Linked DNA regions of Homo sapiens: all the other regions are linked to region 1. The links are contacts of gene promoters, found by promoter capture Hi-C in human tissues and cell types (Jung and others, 2019). All regions are on one chromosome and are shown on one strand. The core of a region is centred on a gene start or on the middle of the fragment in contact, and the rest is flanking DNA. Distances in the headings are between cores, read along the strand shown. Region 1 holds the start of MYO18B (myosin XVIIIB). Region 2 has its middle 28 kb from the start of GRK3. Region 3 has its middle 9.9 kb from the start of GRK3. Region 4 overlaps GRK3 (G protein-coupled receptor kinase 3).

Region 1 (6,011 bases), core at 2,006-4,505:
TTAAGGATGGGCTGGGTGTGGTGGCTCATGCCTGTAATCCCAATGCTTTGGGATGCTGAGGTGAGAGGATCACTTGAGGCCAGGAGTTCAAGACCAGCCTGGGCAACATAGCCAGACCCCATCTCTACCAAAAATTTAGAAAAATTAGCTGGGTGGTGTGGTGTATGTCTGCAGTCCCAGCTACTTGAGAGGCCAAGGTGGAAGGATCACTTGAGGTAAGGAGTTTGAGGCTTCAGTGAACCGTGATCAGGCCACTGTATTCCAGCCTGGGTGACAGAGTGAGACCCAGACTCTAAGAACATTTAAAGAAAAAAATTAGGGGCCGGGTGCAGTGGCTCACGCCTGTAATCCCAGCACTTTGGGAGGCTGAGGTGGGCAGATCACCTGAGGTCAGGAGTTTGAGACCAGCCTGGCTAACGTGGTGAAACCCTGTCTCTACTAAAAATACAAAAATTAGCCAGGCATGGTGGCAGGTGCCTGTAATCCCAGCTACTGAGGAGGCTGAGGCAGGAGAATCGCTTGAACCTGGGAGGCAGAGGTTGCAGTGAGCAGAGATTGTGCCATTGCACTCCAGCCTGGAGGACTAGAGCAAGACTTCATCTCAAAAAAAAAAATTAGGGATGATCAAGAGATAGAAGTCAATTGTCCATATAAAATGTCACAATCCCTTGGCTGTTTTGTGGATCCAGAACTCCTTAGCCTAAGGAGAGGCCAAATCTCCAGGGGAAAGGAACAACAACCCCACAGCAGGTATGTAAAGTGATGATTCCCTTGGTCTTTGCCCAGACAAACCCACAGCCACTTGAACTGTCCTGACACCCAACAGAATAGCACCACGATCCACTCTTTCCATGACACCACGCCAACTGGATCAGATGAGCCCAAAGCAGCCGGTTCTCTGGATGCCTTGATAAGAAAGCCTCCACCTTCTCGTCTTTTCCCCCAGCCTGGGGAATGAAGCCTGGAGACTGGACAGTAAATGCTCAGCTGGGTGACAAAATCTTGCTTATAAGGGCTGCCCTAAATCACCGTGTGCTCAAGGTAATACTTGGTCATCTTGTGTAGCAAAAATCCACCCACCACAGGTACCAACAAGGTGAATGGAGCAAACACATGCCATGTTGACTCCTTGGGGAACGGAGGTCCCTTCAAGTCAACGGAACCATCACTGCAGGTCATGGCCTATAGAGAGTCCCAGCCCTGGGCCCAGAGAATCATTTCTGCATGTCAACTCTACCACTTCAGACCAACAGCGTCGGAAAGACAGCAAGGACAGAAAAGCCCAGGAGCCAATGGTTCAGGACTTGTGATGCAAGGGGCGGGAGAAGGGAGGTTCTTGTTTCAATGTCAAATGATCTAGCACAACCTGGAGAAAACAGCTCACCGGGACCTGTCTCCAAACTCTTCCCCTGGTGTGGCCTAAATGTCCCATGCCACTCTCCACTGGGGGCCGCAGGGACCCCTCCTCAACCTCATGTATATTATGTATATTGTATTTTCTTTTTCTTTCTTTTCTTTTCTTTTTTTTTTCAAAATGTAGTTTTGCTCTTGTCGCCCAGGCTGGAGTGCAATGGCGCCATCTCTGCTCACTGCAACCTCTGACTCCTGGGTTCCAGCTATTCTCCTGCCTCAGCCTCCCGAGTTGCTGGGATTACAGGTGCCCGCCACCACGCCCAGCTAATTTTCGTATTTTTAGTAGAGGTGGGGTTTCACCATGTTGGCTAGGCTGGTCTCAAACTCCTGACCTCAAATGATCCACCCGCCTTAGCCTCCCAAAGTGCTGGGATTACAGGTGTGAGCCACCATACCCGGCCTAGACTGCCATTTTCTAAGCAGCCTTCCCTTAGTGTTTCAATGAACTTCTGATTGAATGCTAATTTTCAAGACCTCGGCAGAAGTGAGTACTTTGGGAAAATATTGCTCGATGAGCTCTGGGGAAAGAGGAGCAGCACCACATAGCAATTATTGAAACAATTCTCACAGGAGCAGTATCATGCTGGGCTGATTGCGGTCTTTGGAACCAGAAAGACTTGGATTTGAGTCATGACTCTACCCTTTGCTAGCTGCATGGACCTGCATGGTTTATCCAATTTATTGAAGTCTGTACTTTGCTCCTTTTAGGCAGTGGACAAAGCACTTTTTTTGTTGTTGTTTTTTTGAGATAGAGTCTCTTATCGCCTAGGCTAGAGTGCAGTGGCGTGACCTTAGCTCATTGCAACCTCCGCCTCCTGGGTTCAAGCAATTCTCCTGCCTCAGCCTCCCAAGTAGCTGGGATCACAGACAACCACTACCCCACCCAGCTGATTTTTTTTTTTTTTTTTGAGATGGAGTCTCTCTCTGTCACCCAGGCTGGAGTGCAGTGGCGCGATCTCGGCTTACTGCAAGCTCCGCCTGTAGCTGGGACTACAGGCGCCCACCACCACGCCCGGCTAATTTTGTTTTTGTATTTTTAGTAGAGACGGGGTTTCACTGTGTTAGCCAGGATGGTCTCAATCTCCTGACCTCGTGATATGCCCACCTCGGCTTCCCAAAGTGCCGGGATTACAGACGTGAGCCACCGTGCCAGGCCCAAAGCACTTTTTTATAGCCCCTAGTTTGCTGTTGTGTCTGTTTCCTCTACGGCCCGCACAGCCTGGGTTTGAATTCTGGCTCTCCATGGCCTTGGGCAAGTTGGTTAACTTTTTGTGTCTCAATTTCCCCACTTGTAAAGTGGGGCTGGGGAAAAACCCTACCTCATAGGGAACATTAAGTGAGTTCATGAAAGCCCTCGGTGTGTGGCATGCGATAACCACTACCTAAGCATAAGGTATGTTTACATGCACTGGTTGTTTACCACGACGCACCAGCATTCATTCAAGTTATTTTCTTCCAGAGTCTGCCTGGAATGTAGAACCGGCCAGCTCTCCTCCTCAAACAGTTCCTGCAACCTCTGGTTATCTGTGTGGGCAGAGGCGGGAGTGTGGGTGTGTGGCCCTGCCCTGGGACAGGGATGACGAGAGAGCATGTGCTTGTGTCCAGAGCTGTCCCCTTCCCTGCTCAGGGGCCACCAAATATGTCCATGGTCTCTGCTGCCTGGTCAACGGCCACCCCGGGCTGCCGTCTCCTGGCCAGACCTGGAGCTCACAAGCTAATTTTAGAAATGACTGGTCGACTCAGCTGCTGCTATCACATTGGCCCAGAAGGAGGGTGGGGGGAGGACGGGTCGGGGAGGGGCAGTAAGGGGAAGGGATGTGTGTCGGTGTGTGTGGAGAGGGTGCTCCTTCGCTCCTGCTTTCCCGGCTCGGTGGGGTCCCTTCGCGGCCACCCGGGGAGACGTCTTAGACAGTCGTGGTTCCTGTGATCTGTGTCCTCTTTGCAGAAGGTACTATTGGGCTGGGTTTTAGACGGGCACCTTGCGAGCGGATCGGCGAGTTTTAATTTTCCGGAATGCGCTGCTGGGGGCTGCGGTGGCAGGCCTCCGGTCTTTTGGTCTATTTTAGGCCTTTCTGGTGTTGAGAGCTTCCGAGGCCTGATTCCTTTGCCTGTTGCCCGTGCTGCTCACTTTGAAAACAAGAGTGTTTCGGTGGAAGGATTTGAGAACAAAATGCTGGGGCAAATGGACATTCGTAAGAATCACTCTCCTCAGGCCCCAGCTGTTCGCTAATAATTTTTAAAAATGTGTTTAGAATCATGAGTTAATCTCCACTGTGAATCTTTGCCCGCAGACGTCAGGGTTTATATTTTTCCTCAACTACCAGTAATTTCTGCTTCACTGGTGTTCAGTTATGGTCGGGGAAGAGCCAGGCTTCCCCTTTCGTGTTAACAACGCTGTTGAGTCGAAATGTTAATTTTAATGTTCTTTTTTAAACTGCAAATTAAGCATGTATGAGTGTTGGGGGAAGGGCAATGGAAGTTCATGGCTGAAGGTTTCAATTTCATGCCACCTTCCTTGAGCTCTGTCTGAGGGAAGGTGTCTTATCTGGCACCCCGGATAGCAGGCATTTCTCTGAATGAAGAAGATTCACAGGTCCCAGTGGCCCCATAGTGGGGCAGAAGGGGGCTATGCTTTGACATGGAGCTCTCTCCCAGGAGAGGAGAAGACCTCACCAGCTACAGGCCTCTGGGCTGCTGCCTTCCTGCAGCTTTTCCATGGAGGAGGCCAGGAGTGGGGAGGCCCGGAATGGGGAGCCCAGTCGGCTCCCAGTCGGCTCCAAGCTGTCCAGTCTGGCCTCAACCCGCAAGTGTGGGGATCTGGGCTTCTATCCTGTAGGGCCTGGAATACGACGAGGCTGTTACTTTCACTTTGTGGCTGTCCAAAAAGATGCTGCCTCATTCAGTGCACCAGCTCATGGAGGCTGAGTGTCCCACTAGGGCTTCTAGACTCCAACAAGGATAATGGTGGCCTTGGGTGCTGTATCCATTGCTGACCTAAGTTGTATTCTCCTATGCCTGGGTACCATGTCCAGTGTGTACCTTGGGAGCAGAAAAGAGAGGGGTCTATATACTCTTAGGCTATGGATGAGTTCTAGAAAATAATAGTGGAGAGGAGAGAGAGAAAAGAAGGAAGAGGAGGAGGAGAAGGAGAAGAAGAGAAGGAGGAGGAGGAAAAAAGCAGGAGGAGAAAGAGAAGAAGGAGGAGAAGAATAATAGCAAAGGAAAAGGCCAAAAGAAAAGGCCAAGTGGGTGGAGGAGGGAGGAGAAGGAGGAAGAGGAGGAGGAGAGGGAGTCTCCTGGTCTCCTGGCTTTTGAAGGGCTGCATGTTACCAATCAACAAATATTTGATGTCACCTGCCTCCAGGCCTGGTCACCTTGAATATCCTGGTGTGGGCTCTGTAACCTTGGATGAGTACTCTCCCCAGTCGGAACTTAGTTTCTCCTTCTAAAACCTGAGGGGGTTGGGCTAGACCACCTCTGGGATCTTTCCTAGGATTCAGCATCCAGGAAGGTTTTTCTTGAAGTGACGGTCGTTGACGACCTACCCATCAGACTCATGTGGGGCAGGAGGCGGGGGGCTGTTTTAAAATGCAGATTCCTGGGTTCATCCTAGACCTTTTGAACAGTCTTGGGGGAAGGGGCCCAGAAATCCACAGATTTTAAACCTCACAGGTGGTTCTGGTGCCCACCCAAATTGGAGAAGAGCTTTTCCTTTCACTTGAGCTAACAAAACCACAGAAGGCTGTTGCTCAGCACCTGCCCTGTCAAAACTCATGGAATTTCCATGTTTCACAAACATGGAAAACGTGCACAGCACTTTATTAGGGTCTAACTATCGCAAAGATTTTATTGGGCAGGTGTTCCTCCAGGGGTAAGATCAAGACTTTCTATGGCATTTTGAGGTGGGAATGGAGGGCCCCCAAACTGAGCAGAACCACTTCCAGCTGCCAAAAGATAGGGACCTGGGGCTGTGAGCCTACAAGGCTATGGGGAGATGGCCCTTCACTGGGTCCTGCTAGATACAAACAACTGTCTGAATGGCCCATTTGAAGCACATGGTCAGCTGCTGTGGTGTGTGGCATATCTTTAATATTTAAACAAAGTGGCCGGGCGCGGGGGCTCACGCCTTTAATCCCAGCACTTTGGGAGGCCGAGGTGGGCAGATCACGAGGTCAGGAGATCGAGACCATCCTGGCTAACACGGTGAAACCCCGTCTCTACTAAAAACACAAAAAAAAATTAGCCGGGCGTGGTGGTGGGTGCCTGTAGTCCCAGCTACTTGGGAGGCTGAGGCAGGAGAATGGCATGAACCTGGGAGGTGGAGCTTGCAGTGAGCCGAGATCACGCCATTGCACTCCAGCCTGGGGACAGAGAGAGACTCCGTCTCAAAAATAAAAATAAAAATAAAAATAAACAAAATGAAATTAAATTTTCTGAAAAATGGAGGAGGTGGGTTTGAGACCAGGGAGGATCCCCCTCCCCTCCAGAGTGCTGCCAAATCCAACCCCTCCTGTTGAGAGATGGTGCAGCTGAGGCACAGAGAGGGAAAGCCACTTGTTCAAGGACACACAGCCCTGCAGCAAGAGCATTGGGCCAAG
Region 2 (6,011 bases), core at 1,864-4,363, 210 kb before region 1:
CTGAAAATTGGCAAATAAAAGAATCGAGCATTTATCTTGCCTTTCCTGTAGGTACTGTATCTTAGTCGATGAAGAAAAGCTTTCTCCATAGAAGCAGCCCAACGAATAGGAAGGAGTGATAGACTTAAAATAGAGCCATTTTGCAAGTGCCTAAGGAAATAATGGCTCTAGGCAATGCATCATCGGCTACTAAAATCCCCCGAAGAGAGACGGCCAGACGTTATGAGCCTGCTGATTGAATAATACAACTAACTACGAAATATTCTTGCTGAAAACTCAAACCTGAATCAGATCAAATCTTTAAATCTAATGACCAATTTACAGGACATACAAGAGAAGGAACAACATATTAAAAGATGCCACAAGAATACAACCAATGGAACCCAGATTGTGAGGTACTCTACAGAGCAAATGATTCAGTTTTAAAAAATATGTCAATTGCAAGGAAAATTTTAAAAAATAGGCAGAGGCAGAAGCCATAGATAAAGGAGACTAAAGAGACATACCAGCCAAAGGCAAATGTGTGGAGGGATGAATCCTTCCCTAGTACTCCCTGTCTTAAAGAATGCTGCTACTAGTAATGCGGGTGCCAGAGCCAGAAATCTGGGATTTGCTTTTATTCCTTTCTTTTCCTTAGCCCCGTCCACCTGCATGCAATAAATGAGAACCAGCCCTACTTGTTTTACTTCCTAAGTGCCTGTAAAATATCACTTATTTATTTTGATTTTTAATTGTAGTAAAATACACTTAACATAAAATTTACCACTTTTTTATTTTTCTTTTTCCTTCTTTTTTTTTTTTTTTGAGACAGAGTCTTGCTCTGTTGCCCAGGCTGGAGTGCAGTGGCGTGATCTCAGCTCACAGCAACTTCCATCTCCCGGGTTCAAGAAATTCTCCTGCTTAAACCTCCTGAGTAGCTGGGATTACAGGCACCCACCACCACACCCAGCTAATTTTTGAATTTTTAGTAGAGACGGGGTTTCACCATTTTGGCCAGGCTGGTCTCAGACTCCTGGTCTCAGGTGATCTGTCCGCCTCAGCCTCCCAAAGTGCTGGGATTATAGGCATGAACCACAGCACCCGGCCAATTTACCACCTTAATTTTTTAGTGTACAATTCAGTGATATTAAATGTACATTCATATTGTTGTGCAACTGTCACGACAGTCTATCTTAAGAACCCTTTTCATTTTGTAAAACTGAGACTATAAAACAGTAACTCCTCATTCGCCCCAACCCCCAGCTCCTGGCAACCACCATTCTACTTTCTGTCTCTATGATTTTGAGAACTCTAAGTATTTCACATAAGCGAATCATACAGTATTTGCCTCTTTGTGACTGGTTTATTTCACTTAGCATAGTATCCTCAAGGTTTATCCATGTTGTAGCATGTGCCAGAATTTCCTTCCCTTTTAAGGCTGACTAGTATTCTTTTGTATGGATATACCACATTTACTTATCCTTTCATTGGTGGATGGACATTTGGGTTGCTTCCACAGTTTTCAGCTCTTGTGAATGATGTTGCTGTGGACATTAGTGTACAAACAACTCTTCAAGACCCTGCTTCCTATTCTTTTGGGTATATACTCTAAAGAGGAATTGCTAGATGATGTGAAAATTCTATTTCGGTTTTCAGGAACTGCCATACTGTGTTCTACAGAGACTGTACCATTTTACATTCCCACCAGCAGGGCATAGGTGTTCCCATTTCTCCACATCCTCGCCAACACTTGTCATTTTCTGTTTTTTTGATCGTAGCCATCCTAATGGGTGTGAGGTGGTATCTCACTGTGGTTTTGGTTGCCATTCCCCTAATGATTAGTGATTCTAAGCATCTTTTCTTGTGCTTATTGGCATTTGTATATCCCTTTCAGAGACATGTCTATTCAAGTTGTTTGGATTGAACTGGGTTGTTTGGCCTTTGTTGTTGTTGAGTTGTAGGAGTTCTCTATATATTCTGGATATGAATCCCTTATCAGGTATATGACTTGCAAATACTTTCTCCCATTCTATAGGTTTCCTTTTCACTGTGTTGAGAATGTCCTTCAATGCACCAAAGTTTTTAATTTTCATGAAGTTCGGTTTGTCTATTTCTTTCTTTTTTTTGCCTGTGCCAAGTGCCTTTTGAACCTCTCTCTACCCACCACTACCTTAACCCAGTCCAGGCCAATATTTTCCTGGACTCCTGTAATTGCCTTCTTACTGCTCCCTCATAGCCCTCACTGAAAACTTTTCTGTGGATCCCCCTTACCCTCAGAACAAAACTCAATCTCCTTACCATGTGAATCTTTGCACATCTCTGCCTCTCCAAGGCATAGTGCACCTGGCATGTAAAGTGCTCAATAAACAGTCACTGTTAAATTAGGTGGTAGCTTGGGGATCTCTGAGACATCTTCTTATCTAAAGGTACCTCTCTCACCAAGCTTCCAGTGTCTCTGAACCCCACATTAGATATGCATTTCTGAACCCATCCCATAGTTCTAGTTGTCCACTTTAAAAATAGTTGTAATCATGGACATACGGGGTACACTAGACACTGGAGGCTGCAAAAGGTGAGAGGGTAGGAGGGGGCATGAGGGTTGAAAAATTGCCTATTGGGTACAATGTTCGCTATTCTGATGATGGGTAGACTAAAAGCCCAGATTTCACCACTATGGGATATATGTATGTAAGAAACCTGCATTTGTACTCTCTAAATATATAAAAATAAAAATAAGGCCATGCACGATGGCACACCTAGCACTTTGGGAAGCTGAAGCCAGGAATTTGAGACCAGCCTGGGCAACACAGGGACACCCACCTCTACAAAAAAAAATTTAAAAAATTAGCTAGGGGTGGTGGCATGCACCTGTAGTCCCCAGCTACTTGGGGGACTGAGGCAAGAAGATTGCTTGAGGCTGGGAGGTTGAGGCTGCAGTGAATTATGATCACACTACTGCACCCCATCTGGAACAACAGAGCGAGACCCTGTCTCTAAAATAAATAAAATAAAAGAGTTGCAATATTGAAACAAAGATTGTAGAAACCAAAGGCATACATCTGAGCCTGAAGGCTGTTACTTACCTACCAGCTGTGTGATGCAATTAAGATCTCTGGACCTTTGTTTCCTTATGTGTAAATTGAAGGCAATAAAGCAAATTTTACAAAGATATTGCGTGATCTAGGGATCATATCTGTGAAGTGTCTGCTCTGTTTAACACATCACTGCCACTCTAGAAGTTCCTACAGTTTGGATGATTAATAACTACAAAGAAAAAATAATAAGTGAAATAAACAAAAAATGGGGGCATTCAAAGAAAAGACTGACGGAAACTCTTGAGTGGCACAAGACATAAATATTGTGGGTAAGATCAACTCTTCTTCCACTGTGATTGTCTCTTTGGAGGGGCACTGCTTGCTTTTCCTAGAAAGATATCTTCATCTTCTACTGAGTCACCATAAAACAATAAAGAAGAAACATGGGTAGTGTCCAAATATTTTGGTAACAATCAACTTGTAGTCAGCTGTTGCTGGGATAAGGCTGCACAGTGAGCCCAAGATCTCAGCGGCTTGTGACAAACAACATTCATTTCTCTCCCATGGGTCTGGATATCAGCCACAGTTAACTGGGCTCAGATTCAGGACAGCTCCGTGTGTCTTTCACGTTAGGACCAGGATAAAGGAGCAGTGACTACTTGGAGCATACTCATCATGGTGACAGCAAGTATACAAGAGGCTAAGCCACGGCACATAAATATACTTAAAGCCTCTGTTTGCATCATTTCTGCTTGTGGGCCATTGGCCAAAGTAAATCACAGGGCGGCAGCTCAAGTCAGTGGGGTAGCATCGTACACTCTCTAAAGAGAAGCCATGGCCAAGGTGGGAGAGAAAGAAGAGTCATGAACAAACAATACCATCGACCACTCCACTGTAACTCTCATGTTCACTGATTTATCTCAATGGTTTTTTTTGGGTTTTTTTTTTTTTTTTTTTTGAGATGGAATCTCTCTCTGTCTCCCAGGCTGGAGAGCAACGGCCCAATCTCGGCTCACTGCAACCTCCGCCTCCTGGTTCAAGCGATTCTCCTACCTTAGCCTCCCGAGTAGCTGGGATTACAGGCGTGCGCCACAACACCCAGCTAATTTTTGTATTTTTCATAGAGATGGGTTTTCACCATGTTGGCCACGCTAATCTCGAACGCCTGACCTCAGATGATCCATCCGCCTTGGCCTCCCAAAGTTCTAGGATTACAGGCATGAGCCACTGCACCGGCCTCAATGGTTATTAAAACTATACCCAAAGGAGGCCGGGCGCGGTGGCTCACGCCTGTAATCCCAGCACTTCGGGAGGCTGAGGCGGGCGGATCACAAGGTCAGGAGATCGAGACCATCCTGGCTAACACGGTGAAACCACCTCTCTATTAAAAATACAAAAAGTTTGCCGGGCATGGTGGTGGACACCTGTAGTCCCAGCTACTTGGGAGGCTGAGGCAGGAGAATGGGGTGAACCTGGGAGGCAGAGCTTGCAGTGAGCCGAGATCACGCCACTGCCCTCCAGCCTGGGTGACAGAGTGAGACTCCATCTCAAAAAAAAAAAAAAAAAAAAAAAACTACACCCAAAGGAAAATGAATCAATCCACCCAAAAAGCACATGCACTCATATGTTTATCTCAGTTCTAGTCACAATAGCAAAGACATGGAATCAACCCAGGTGCCCATCAATGGTGGATTGAATAAAGACAATGTGGTACATACACACCATGGAATACTATGCAGCCTTAAAAGACAATGAAATCAGCCAGGCGTGGTGGCTCATGCCTGTAATCCCAGTACTTTGGGAGGCCGGGGCGGGCAGACCACCTGAACTCAAGAGTTCAAGACCACCCTGGGCAACATGGTGAAACCCCGTCTCTACTAAAATACAAAAAGTTAGCTGGGCATGGTGGCCCGCACCTGTAGTCCCAGCTACTTGGGAGGCTGAGGCATGAGATTTGCTTGAGCCTCAGAGGCAGAGGTTGGAGTGAGCTGAGATGGTGTCACTCCCTCCAGCCTGGGCAACAGAGCAAGACTCTGTCAAAAAAAAAAAAAAAAAAGAATGAGATCATGTCCTTTGCAGCAATATGGATGCAGCTAGAGGCCATCATCCTTAGCAAACTAACACAGGAACAAAAAACCATTTACTGCATGTTCTCACTTATCTATGGGAGCTAAGCATTGGGTACATGCAGACACAGAGATGGGAGAAATAAACACTGCGGATTCAAAAAGTGGGGAGGGAGGTAGGAGCATAAGGCTTGAAAAACTACCTATTGGCTACTATGTTCACTACTTGGGCAACGGAATCAGTAGAGACCCAAACTTCATCATCACACAGTCTACCCATGTAACAAACCTGCACATGTACCCTTTGAATCTAAAATTTAAAAAAAGAAACTATTTTGTCTTTTCAGCATGCACAACCTATTGGGGGAATTATTGCCTTATTTATTATTGGTTGGGAAGGTAAGATTTCTCTGATTTTCATACTAAGAAATAAATAACAATTATGATGGCCATAATCTATGGAGTGTTTGCGATATGTCACACTGCTTCCATATGTGACCTCCTTTATATCTCCCCACAATTCTAGGAGGAAGGCACCTTGATAGTCATATTTTATAGACAAGGAAGACAAAATGCTGGGAAGTTAAGTGACTTCTCCAGGACCACACAACCAATAAATGTAACACAACCTTGGAACGAAATCTGACTGTGCCTGACTTCAAAGTCTATGCTTAAATTTCCTCTTTCATCCTCAAGGATGGCCCTGGTTCACACATTTTTTAACGATAAACTTTCTATTTGAGAATTGATTTTGATTTCAGACAAGTTATGAAGATTGTGCAGAGCATTCTAACATACCACCCAGTTTCCTCTATTATTAACACTAATTGTATCTTACATTAATATGGTGAATTTGCCAGAAGTGAACCTGTACTGAAACATTAACTACAATTGTTGCTTTGTTTGGATTCCCTTAATTTTTACTTAATAT
Region 3 (6,011 bases), core at 2,079-4,578, 190 kb before region 1:
TGGGATATATGTGCAGGACGTGTAGGTTTGTTACATAGGTGTATGCCATGGTGGTTTGCTGCACCTAGGTATTAAGCTCCACATACATTAGCTATTTATCCTGGTGCTCTCCCTCCTCCACCCACCCCTGACAGGCCCTGGTGTGTGTTCCTCTCCCTGTATCCATGTGTTCTCATTGTTCAGCTCCCACTTATGAGTGAGAATATGCGATGTTTGGTTTTCTGTTCCTGTGTTAGTTTGCTGAGGATAATGGCTTCCAGCTCCATCCATGTCCCTGCAAAGACATGATCTCGTTCATTTTTATGGCTGCATAGTATTCTATGGTGTATTATGTACCATATTTTATTTATCCAGTCTATCATTGATGGGCATCTGGGTTGGTTCCATGTTTTCGCTATTGTGAATAGTGCTGCAATAAACATATACGTGCATGTATCTTTATAATAGAATGATTTGTATTCCTTTGGGTATATACCCAGTAATGAGATTCCTGGGTCAAATGGGATTTCTGGTTCTAGATCCTTGAGGAATTACCACACTGTCTTCCACAATCGTTGAACTAATTTACATTCCCACCAACAGAGCAAAAGCATTCCTACTTCTCCACAGCCTTGCCAGCATCTGTTGTTCCTTGACTTTTTAATAATTGCATTCTGACTGGCATGAGATGGTATCTCATTGTGGTTTTGATTTGCATTTCTCTAATGATCAGTGATGTTGAGCTTTTTTCATGTTTTTTGGCTGCAAAAATGTCTTCTTGTTGTTTTAAGCTGTTAAGTGTGGTCATATTGTTACACAGCAATGACTAATACAAAAGATTTGTCTCTGCATGGAGATAAAGAATGTAATCAAGAAATCTGATTTGGCTGGGCATGGTGGCTCATGCCTGCAATTCCAGCACTTTGGGAGGCCGAGGCAGGAGGATTGCTTGAGAGCAGAAGTTTGAAACCAGCTTGGGTAACATAGCAAGATCCCCATCTCTACAAAAAAAAAAAATTAGCTGGGCATGTGGTGTGTGCCTGCAGTCCTAGTACTTGGGAGGATGAGGTGGGAGGATTGCTTGAGCCCAGGAGGTCCAGGCTGCAGTGAGCCATGATGATCATGCCATCACACATCAGCCTGGGCAACAGAGCAAGACCCTGTCTATAAAAAAAAAATGAAAAAAAAAAAAAAGAAATCTGATTTGATCAGCTAATAGACATAGGAAAATTCCAAGTGTTTTTTCTACTTTCATATACCACTCAACACAGCACTTCTGACACCAGAAGTGTGGAGATTTCTTCCCATCAGCAACCAGTCAATTATTCAGGGGACACCAACTGGGCGTCCTCTAATTCCATTCACTCTGACCAATTGCAAGTAGTAGGTTGTCACTTACACTTCTGACCAATCAGCTATAAATTGGGGTTCCCATGACCCCCTCCTCAAGTTCAATTAATTTGCTAGAGTGACTCACAGAACTCAGGAAAACACCGTATCTGTGTTTACTGGCTTATTACAAGGGTATTACAAAAGATACAGATGAGCAGCCAGGTGGAAGAGATGCATAGGGCAAGTCCTGGGGCTAGGAGCATCTCTGCTCTCTCTGAGCACACCATACTACAGGACCTCCATGTGTTCAGCTATATGGAAGCTCTCTGAACCCACTTGGTTTTTCTGCATTTATCTGGAGGCTTCATTCTATAGGCATGATTGATTAAATCACTGGCCATTGGTAGTCAACTCACCCGTCAGCCCCTCTCTGCTCCTCAGAGGCTAAGGGGTGGAATTAAAAGTCTCAACTCTAGGCTACATGTGGTGGCTCACACCTGTAATCCCAATACTTTGGGAGGCTGAGGAGGGAGGATGGCTTGAGCCCATGAATTTGAGACCAGCCTGGGGAACATAGTGAGACCCTATCTCTACAAAAAAAAAAAAAAAAAAAATAGCTGGGCATAATGGTGTGTGCCTGTAGTTCTAGCTACTCAAGAGGCTGAGGTGGGAGGATTGCTTGAGCCTGGGAGGTTGAGGCTGCAGTAATCACACCACTGCACTCCAGCCTGGGCAACAGAGCCAGATCCTATTTTTGTTTTTTAGTCTCAACCGTCTAATCATGCCTTGGTTTTGTGGGTAACCAGTCCCCATCTTGAAGTTGTCTAGGGACCCTAGCCACCAGTCATCTCACTAACATACAAAAGACACTCTTAACATTTTGGAGGTTCCAAGGATTTTAGGAGCTCTGTGCCAGGAAATGGATGAAGACCAAATGTATATATACATGAATATTTAATATATACATGATATTAATATATATGAATATGTAATAAGAATATCTATTAATCTTTATAAATCACAATATCATATCAGCCAACATATCTCACCCAGTTTAAGTGCTGGTGACAGACAACCACACCATTAGTAGATGGGAGAAAACTCCCTGGAGAGCTGCTGAAATCCCATAACTCATGACAAGCAGATGAAGGCTTTCTGAGCCAAACATCCCATGACATCGGGATTGTAATTCCAGTCTTGGGAAATTGCTTTTTCTCTTGCAATTTGCTAGATTCTAAGGGGGGATCAAAAGAGTCACAAAGACTCCCCAGTGGGCTGTTAGCTGCAGCAACATTTCTTGAGCAAGTATTCAGCCTGGGAAGCTTCCTGATCATGTGCTCAGTGTCCACATGGATGGGAGCTGGACTGATGGAGTAAGAAAGATCAGTGAGCACAGGGGAGAGGTCAGATGTTGTCAAATACACCATCCCTGGGTGAGCCCCAGAGAGCCTTTGCCCCCAGCCAATTAGCCCAACAAGTTACCATCTGTATGTGGCATCTATTTGCATAGCACACACTGTTCCCTGCACTTCTGAGGAAGAGGTGAAACAGACTGGGACTTTTCTTTTCAAGACCTCAAGGGTGGAAACACTTTTGCCTGCAGTTGCCCATGGTTCTTGTTTGTTTAGAAAAATTAAGGCCTGGATGGACAGAGCTATCATTTGTTTGCTTCCTCTCATTTCTATTTAAAGCAGTTTATAAAGAAAGTCCTCCAGAAAAATCCAGCCGGCTCCCCACCCCCACACATGCCTTTTCTGGACTGTGTTAAAGGGAGGGAAAGGTTATTATCCAGAGAGCAGTCAGAGTTCTCTTTCATAAGGTCAATTGGGTCATGTCACGTCCCTGCTGAAAGCCCATCTCTGGCTTCTCATTGCTCTCAGGACAAAGACCCAGCTCTTTGGTGTGGCCTCCAAGGCCCTGCAGGGTCTGGCCTCTGCCCAGTCTCAGGTGTCATCACACATCCTACTCTTTGCTTCCCAGCTATGCTCCTTGTTTGCCGCCCAGGGCCTTTGCCTGGCTGTATGGTCCACCTGGAGGCTGTCTCTGACCCCCTTCTGTTCCTCCTTCCATTCTCAGCTTAAATGTCACCTCCTCAGAGAAGGCCTCCTGGACCCACAACCAACTGTGGGCTCTTCAAAGACATCTATTACATCATTTTGGCTCATAGCACAATTTTAATAAATTAACCAATTAACTGCCAATGCACCCCCCTGCAAATATGTTATTCCATGAAGGTGGAGGGTGTCTACCTGTCCACCACTGTCATCCCGGTACCTCACATACAGTAGGTTTCCAAGAAAAAGTTGCCAATAATTGGTTGATGGACTGAAGAAATCAATGGAGATCAGTGTAACTGTTTAATGTGAGAACTTCCTTGGCCCCTGGAGGGCCTGGGAGGAAACCTTTCCTCATCTTTAGATAATTACCACTTTGGCTTTTGGGTTTATGGTGGCTGGATTATGATTCTTTTCAGAGGACTGATGTCTGGTCAGGTTTGGTGATGCTTATGAGAAAGGTTGTTAGCCTGGCAAGACAGACAGTGACATTTGCTGGTTACAGGGACAGGAAGGAGGGCTTCAGGGCTGGAGCAGTTCCAATCCCCAACTAAGTCTTCCATGCTCCAACACTGGCCCCAAGAATGTGATTCTCTGGAGGAGAGCATTCTAGACTTGACAGTGGCCAGGATTCCAGGACGTTTTGTGGTCTCCTGCCAAGTTTCATGCTCAGTTCTTTCCAGAAACAGTTATAAGCAGTGGGGGCCCTGGGAGTGTGTGTAGGTGTCTTCGAGCCCAGGCACGGGGTCCATCAGGCCTGACTGCTCCAAAGAGGACTTCACGCATTCCAGCCCCACTGAGCCCTTATGGTGTGTCCTGTGATCTCATCTAGCTCTTACAATAATCTTTACAATAGTTAATTACCCTCACATTATAAAAGAGACAACTGGGAGTCAGAGTGAAATCACTTAGTCTAAGATCGTTCGAGTACTGTCAGAAGCGAGATTCAAATTGAGGCCTTCCTTATTTTAATGTTCATCCTCTTTCCTTTCAACTGTATCACGATGCCTGAAATTATTCCAGCTGAACAAAGTCAGCCTGAATGATTCCTGGCGTTAAGGAAAAACCTGCTGCCCCTAACATATCACACACACACACACACACACACACACACACACACACACACACACACACACAAACTAGCAACCCAGTTGTATGAAATTCCTTTAAGAAAGGCAAACTCTACTATTTTATAATCAAGCATATGGTTTAAAATTCAGACACTCCTGGCCGGGTGTGGTGGTTCACACCTGTAATCCCAGCAGTTTGAGAGGCCAAGGCAGGGAGATCATTTGAGGCCAGGAGTTCGAGACCAGCCTGGCCAACATGGTGAAACTCTATCTCTATTAAAAATACAAAAATTAGCTGGGCATGGTGGCACATGCCTATAATCCCAGCTACTCGGGAGGCCGAGGCAGGAGAAGCGCTTGAACCTGGGAGGTGGAGGTTGAGGTTGCAGGGTGCTGAGATTGCCGAGATCGCACCACTGCACTCCAGCCTAGGTGACAGAGCAAGACTTACCTGGTCTCAAAAAAATTAAAAAAAAAATAAAAAATAAAAATAAATCAGACATTTCTGGGAAAATTGACCTACCAACAAATTCACACTAAGGCGTATATGATGGACAGGACATCTTTTGATGAGAGCAGCTTTTGATTAAGGAGGAGAACACGGAGGAGAAGAGAGAGGCACTTGTTCTTGAAGGGCTAAAGGGGCAAGGGGAGGTGGGAGGAAGTGGAGAGGAAGACAGAAAAAAGGAAACAGGAGAAAAGGGCTTAGAACGTGATAGGAGCCCACCAAGAGAATTTTTGGCAGATTTCCATTATTGCCTACAAGTGTCTCAGTGGCTTCTCTCCCAGAGATGCCAGGGGTGATATCTGAGCAGAGATCTGAATGGTGAGAGGCCAAAACAAGGCCTTGAAGGAGAGTGTTCCAGGCAAATGGAAAAGGAAGACAAAACCCTCAAGGTTGGAATTGCTTGGTCGGTGTGACCCGGGCATCATGGGAGGACTTGGGATTAGCATGAGGTGAGTCGGAAAGAGAATTTGAATGGGGTTTTATTGTGCACTTTAACATGCCTTATTTGATGTTGTTTCACTCACAGCCCCATGACTTAGAGTACAAGGACATTCAGAGGACAGGGGTTGAGGGAGAAGTCCTGGGTTGAGACTGCCTGAATTCATACCCTATGAATTTAGTTGTTGCACTTACGTTGCAAGTGACTTGAGATTTTTCTTTTGGCTAAAATGAGCCCAACCAGCTGGGCACAGTGGCTCACGCCTGCAATCTCAGCACTTTGGGAGGCTGAGGCGGGTGGATTGCTTGAGCTCGCGAGTTCAAGATCAGCCTGGGCAACATGGTAGCACCCCCCAAAAGACAAAAAAAAAAAGCCAGGCATGGTGACATATCCCTGTGGTCTCAGCTACTTGGGAGGCTGAAGTGGGAAGACTGCTTAAACCCAGGAGGTTGAGGCAACGGTGAGCTGAGATCACAGCACTGCAATCCAGCCTTGGTGACAGAGTGAGACCCTGTCTCAAACAAACAAAACAAAAACCCACAAAACGAAAAATGAGGCCAACCCTCTCCATTATAGGTGTCTGAGGAAGATTATTAAGATAGTCCCACAAAGTGTTTAACATGATAGTT
Region 4 (6,011 bases), core at 1,274-3,773, 160 kb before region 1:
AAATTACTCCAGATACATCCATGTGGAGACATTGAGAGGTATATTTTATCTGTTTGAGGACAGCTGGTTTTCTCCTTAGATACTAGTGTCTTGACTGTGGGGCAGGGAGTGGCTTTCAGCCTTCCAGACTCAGAAACTAGATTTTATTATGTCACTGTACTAAGCATCTGTCTCTTATTGTGAAACTCACATAATCAGCCAAGTCTGCCTGACTAAATTATTCTCTTCCTATAGGCCTCTGGTTCTTATTTTAAGATTAAAGACCCTTTTGAGAATCCTACTAAGTGAGAGCCTCCCCCTCCCAAAAGTGCGCTAACTCACTTACACAGATTTATCTGAAAAGCTACACTATAACTAGAATGTCCAGTTTGCTACATTGCATTAAACACTGGCTCCCACAGGAGCCTACGTGCCCAGCGTCTGTGTGGCTGGAGCTCTCTCTCGTGGGTCCCCCTTGTGGGAAGCAAAACGACCATCAGAAGGTGGTATAGCGAGCACAGACCCACAGTCGGATGAGTCAGATGGTTACTTGGGACCAAGTCACCCCTCCTAGGAGTGGCTTACGCTGGATGTCCAGTACCTGAAATCCCTGACTACAGTGGCTTTGGGACAAGTCATCTTTCCATATTTTCATGTTTCCCATTGTAATTGGTGGGCACACGTCCACTGGATTTGAGACTATAGTTCATGAAACCACTGCCAAAGCTGCCTAGACCAGAAACCTTTGCCATTTCTTGGCCATTTGTGTTATGTATTGATTTAAAGTTTTTATTCTCAGAGAGCAAGCTTTTTTCTTTATTTAGAGATTCTTGGAAATGGCTCTGTAATACTCATCATCTTATTTTAGAAGAAGGAAATTCAGGTTCAGGGAGAAGCTAATTGCTCAAGGTCGCGCTGATAACAAATGGTGCAGCTGAGCTTCAAATCCAGGTTTTCTGATTCCAAATTCAGCGTATTTTCAGAAAAACCTTCAGACTGTCTTTTTCCTGGTGAATCTTATTTTATGAGGAGGGGGCTCATGGATTTGACTAGAGGAGCACTGTCAATTTCAGACGTTAGTGACACAATTTGAAAATGCATTGTATTCATTCAGTAAAGATTATCCACTGCAGGGGTCTGAGGAAGTGCTCCAGTAGCATAATTTCACTGGCCATGTTAACTTAATAATAAATACATTAATAATTTCCTAGAAGAAAAGATGTCATAGATTCCATGTTAACTAATAAGATTGTTATTAATAATGATGGCAGTGTTATAACTTGAGAAACCAACTAAGCTACATGTCATGAGTTCTTAATGTTTTCTTACCCCAAACATCTTTTTGTGATTTTAGGTGCATTCTTAATTAAAATTCATCTCCATGCCTGCCAGTTGGTAAATGAGTATCCTTGACTTGAACACGTTTGTCAGTTACTCTAGATACAATAAAGGATTTTTTTTTTTTTTGAGACAGTCTCGCTCTCTTGCCCAGGCTGGAGTGCAGCGGTGTGATCTCGGCTCACTGTAACCTCCGCCTCCCAGGTTCAACTGATTCTCCTGCCTCAGCCTCCTGAGTAGCTGGGACTACAGATGTGCACCACCATGCCTGGCTAATATTTTTCTACTTTTTGTAGAGACAGGGTTTTGCCACATTGCCCAGGCTGGTCTCGAACTCCTGGCCTCAAGTGATTCAACTGCCTCAGCCTCCCAAAGTGTTGGGATTACAGGCATGAGCCACCGTGCCTGGCCCGTAAAGGATTTTTAATGTTAAACTTGGCACTCATTAGCAGTTCATTCTAAATTGTGATGGAAAATTAATGGAGCGGGTTGCATATCTAACCCCTACCCAGAAAGGTTGTTGAGCTCAGCTTGGGACAGAGTTGTATTTGTCAGGAGCACATTAGTAAATCCACTTATGGCTTTTGCCTTCTTCACCTAGTAATGCACGTGGAGCTTTTCCTCGTCAGCAGTATATAGATCTGTTCAGTGTTTGGAATTGCTGCATGAGATGTCAGAACTCTGATCTACTTGACCCTGTGCTCATAAGCCCAAGAGCAATTGCAGTGAATGTTCTTACATAGGTGCCTTTGGGTCTATGTGTGAGCCTTTCTCTAAGATAGACACCTAGAAATAAGTAAGATATGGGCATAGTCTACTCTACGTAGAGCTGCAAAGAAATTCTAATTTTATTCAGAAGCTTTACTGTTAAGAGTAATATTATTTTTAGTTTGAAATTATTTCATATAAACAATTATTTCATATATATATTTGGGTAAAACAAAAAAGAATAATGTCATTTTTGGTTAGAACCAAGAATTTAAGTGTAAATGAAGAGATACATGAGTACAAGATAAGAGTTAAATAAAAATTCTGTAAGATCAAATTTGAATTGGAAGGTTATTTGAAATTCATGATTTTTTTTTCAAATATGTGTGCTTATCATCCCCAGTCTTTAAAAAAATCGAAGAAACAATTGCATTTCCATCACATAGGCACCTCATACACCTGCGCCTGACTCCAGGTGTGGGTGAGATGAGCCTGGACCCTCTGTTACCTGTTGTATCAGAAAAAAAAGGAGCCATCCAAGAAATGTGGTGGGCACCTTCGCTAACAAACTCTGAGGCCAGAAGAAGGGGTTTCCACTGGCTAAAAGTGAGACACCCTGAACATCAAAAGAATATGACTGATACAAACCCCCTGTGGTGGGCAGAATGATGCCCCCCTGAAATATCCACATCTTAATCCCCAGAACCTATGAACATGTTATGTTATATGACAAGGGGGCGTTAGGGGTGTAGGTGGCATCATAGCAGCTAAGGTGCTGAGTTTAAGATAAAGAGATTATCCTGGATTATCTAGGTGGGCCCTAGTGTTACCGCCAGGGAGGCGGAGAGTTGGTGTCAGAGCGATGCAACATGAGAATGAGTCAACCAACCACTGCTGGCCTTTTGAGGAAGGAGGAAGGGGCCATGGACCGAGGAATGTGGGCAGCCTGTAGAATCTGGAAAAGGCAAGGAAATGGCCTGTCCCTTACAGCCTCCATGTGAGACCGCAGTCCTACTGACACTCTGACCGACCTCAGCCCAGGGAGGCCCATTTCAGACCTCTGACCTGCAGATCTGTAAGAGAGTCAATTTCTGCTTGATTTAAGCCACCAAGTTTGTGGTAATTTATTATGGCTGCAATAACAAACTAATAACAAAGCATGAGTTTGTGGATATCTCATGCTATCCACAAGAGATCCCCAAACAAGACAGAAGAGAACACCTCATTGATCACCACCAGCAGTAGAACCAAGGCACCTACTCTGTCTCTGAATAGTGGCAATTGAAAAGGTAAAGAATTAAGCATTTATCCTGCCTTTCCTGTAAAAACTGCTTCTTAGGGTATTTAGAACCCTAGTTGATGGTTGGGGTGGCAGGACAGGAATTCTTTTTTTTTTTTTCTTTGTGACACGCTCTCGCTCTGTCACCCAGGCTGGAGTACAGTAGTGGTGTGATCACAGCTCACTTCAGGCTCAACCTCCTGGGCTCAACTGATCCTCCCACATAGCTGGGACTAAGGGCACATGCTACCATGCCTGGCTAATTTTTTTTTTTTTGGTAGATATGGGGTTTCGCCATGTTGCCAAGGCTGGTCGAGAATTCTTGGGCTCAATGATCTGTTCACCTCAGCCTCTCAAAAAGTTGGGATTGCAGGCTTGAGCCTCTGTGCCCGACCAATGAATGAGGGGACTTCTTTTTTTATTTTTATTATTTTTTTTTTGAGATGGTGTCTCACTCTGTCCCCCAGGCTGGAGTGTAGTGGCATGATCTCAGCTCACTTCAAGCTCCATCTCCCGGGTTCACGGCATTCTCCTGCCTCAGCCTCCTGAGTAGCTGGGACTACAGGCACCCACCACCACACCCGGCTAATTTTTTGTATTTTTAGTAGAGACGTGGTTTCACCGCGTTAGCCAGGATGGTCTCGATCTCCTGACCTCGTGATCTGCCCGCCTCAGCCTCCCAAAGTGCTGGGATTATAGGAGTGGGCCACCGAGCCTGGCCGAGGGGACTTCTTTACAGAAGAATGGCAGCAAATTAATGTGGAAGGAATGGCGAAATTTTAAAAAAATCCCCATTTTGCAATTCTTAATGAAAATATTGATTTAGGCAAAGATCATCAATGTATGATATCGCTAAATGAAAGATTGATGGGGAATTTCAGATGGAGAGATCAGACTATCACCAACTGAATTTTCTAAGTAAAATTTGCATCACTAGGATGAAATAACTGTGTACCCCCTAATGTGAGGCAATATAAGTACCAAAACCATCTCAAAAGTATTCCTGCCCCCAAATGGTGGACTTGAATATGATCAAGCCTTTTGAGGTAACTTTCAGTTTATAGGAAATATGGAGAGAGAGGAACAGTGAAAGACCTTATAGGGAAGCAACAGACAGAAAGGGCATCCCCCATGATGGCTTCCTCGGCTTCCTCAGGGGGTCACTGCAGATAAAGGTCAGGGGTGGGGACAGTCAGGTACTCTCCCTGTCTGCCTTAAATCCCAGAAGAGATTTAAGAGATGGCGCTATCAGATGAATGTGTGGATCTTGGTTAGATCCAGATTGAAACCCACCAGCTATACAAAAGACACTTGAGTCATGGAAATGTGGTTAGAGACTGGGCATTGGATCTTCAGGAATTATCAATTTGAAGGGGGAGTTGGGAAGTGATAATAGACTGTGTTTATATGAGAAAATTATCCATAATTTTTAGAAATGCAAACTGAAATAGGCTAAAACGACATGTGGTCTGAGATTTGTTATTGATTGATTGATTGATTGGGATGGAGTTTTGCTCTTGTTGCCCAGGCTGGAGTGCAACGGCACAATCTCGGCTCACTGCAACCTCCGCCTCCTGAGTTCAAGCAATTCTCCTGCCTCAGCCTCCCAACTAGCTGGGATTACAGGCGACTGCCACCATGCCCACAGCTAATTTTTTGTATTTAGTAGAGGCGGGGTTTCACCATGTTGGCCTGGATGGTCTTGAACTCCTGACCTCAGGTGATCCTCAGATGAGCCACTGTGCCTGGCTGAGATTTGTTTTAAAATGCTTTAAAAAATAAAGGTGGGATAAGTCGAGTGGAGTGGCTCATGCCTGTAATTCCAGCACTTTGGGTGGCCGAGGCAGGCGGATCAGTTGAACCAGGAGTTCGAGACCAGCTTGGGCAACACACCAAAACCTCATCTCTACAAAAATTAGTTGGGCATGGTGGCACACACCTGTAGTCCTAGCTACTTGGGAGGCTGGGGTGGGAGGATCACTTGAACCCAGGAGAGTGAGGCTGAAGTGAGCTGAGATTGCACTCCTGCACTCTAATTTGAGCAACAGAGTGAGACTCTGTCTCAAAAAAAGAGAAAAGTAAAAGAAAAAAAATGGAGGGTGGGGTAGGGAAAAGTAGCAGATTACAATCTTGGTAACTTCCAATGAGGTGCTGAGTGATGGGTCTAGGTGTTCACTATATTATATCCTTTTGCATGTTTGAAAACTTTTGCAATAATTTTTCAAAACAGTAGAGAAGATGGCTAGGTGTGAATATCACAACTGTGTCCCTGCAGGGCTAATGGAAGCCTCAGTTTTCCCAATGTCATGTGTAATAGCACTGGTGACTTAAGATGTACTATATAATTTCTATGACAGCATCATACACAGATGCAAGATGCAAGTGTACTGCATCTCAAACAACTTAGATTGACGGGAGGATGATGTGTTTTTTGGAAACTGCATTAGATGACTCAAAAAGAGGCTCTGTGACACTGATTACAAAGATGCGGGTAGAGTTTTAAGAGGCTCGTTTGCAACCTAAGAGTCCCGACTAATCCAACCAGAGTGGACAGATTTACAACTTCTTGACCTGAAGGCTTGCTATAGAAGGATGAGAAAAAAAAAATGTAAGAAGGCTATTGAAAGGAGAAAGCACAGTAAGAGATCATACTTTAGAAAACGATGATCTGTTTACTTCCTGAGTGCAAAAGACTTCACTGACTTAT

Evidence for each region. Contacts are between HindIII fragments. The study calls those that stand out against the background at their distance.
Region 2: a contact is called between a fragment that was not itself captured here and the fragment with the promoter of MYO18B in region 1, in 1 of the 25 tissues and cell types used here (dorsolateral prefrontal cortex).
Region 3: a contact is called between a fragment that was not itself captured here and the fragment with the promoter of MYO18B in region 1, in 1 of the 25 tissues and cell types used here (lymphoblastoid cells).
Region 4: a contact is called between a fragment that was not itself captured here and the fragment with the promoter of MYO18B in region 1, in 5 of the 25 tissues and cell types used here (dorsolateral prefrontal cortex, heart right ventricle, mesenchymal stem cells and 2 more).

The regions. Positions count from the first base shown.
Region 1 is chr22:25,738,933-25,744,943 of GRCh38, forward strand. MYO18B (myosin XVIIIB) reads left to right here and starts at 3,256. Exons shown (of 44, transcript NM_032608.7): 1 at 3,256-3,361. The HindIII fragment of the contact is 19,978 bases long and covers 1-6,011 here.
Region 2 is chr22:25,533,203-25,539,213 of GRCh38, forward strand. No RefSeq gene overlaps it. Among named protein-coding and RNA genes, the nearest start is that of GRK3, 28 kb to the right of the region's middle. The HindIII fragment of the contact is 3,727 bases long and covers 1,251-4,977 here.
Region 3 is chr22:25,551,791-25,557,801 of GRCh38, forward strand. No RefSeq gene overlaps it. Among named protein-coding and RNA genes, the nearest start is that of GRK3, 9.9 kb to the right of the region's middle. The HindIII fragment of the contact is 4,555 bases long and covers 1,052-5,606 here.
Region 4 is chr22:25,575,747-25,581,757 of GRCh38, forward strand. The region is part of intron 1 of GRK3 (G protein-coupled receptor kinase 3); the gene reads left to right. Among named protein-coding and RNA genes, the nearest start is that of GRK3-AS1, 13 kb to the left of the region's middle. The HindIII fragment of the contact is 6,370 bases long and covers 1-5,708 here.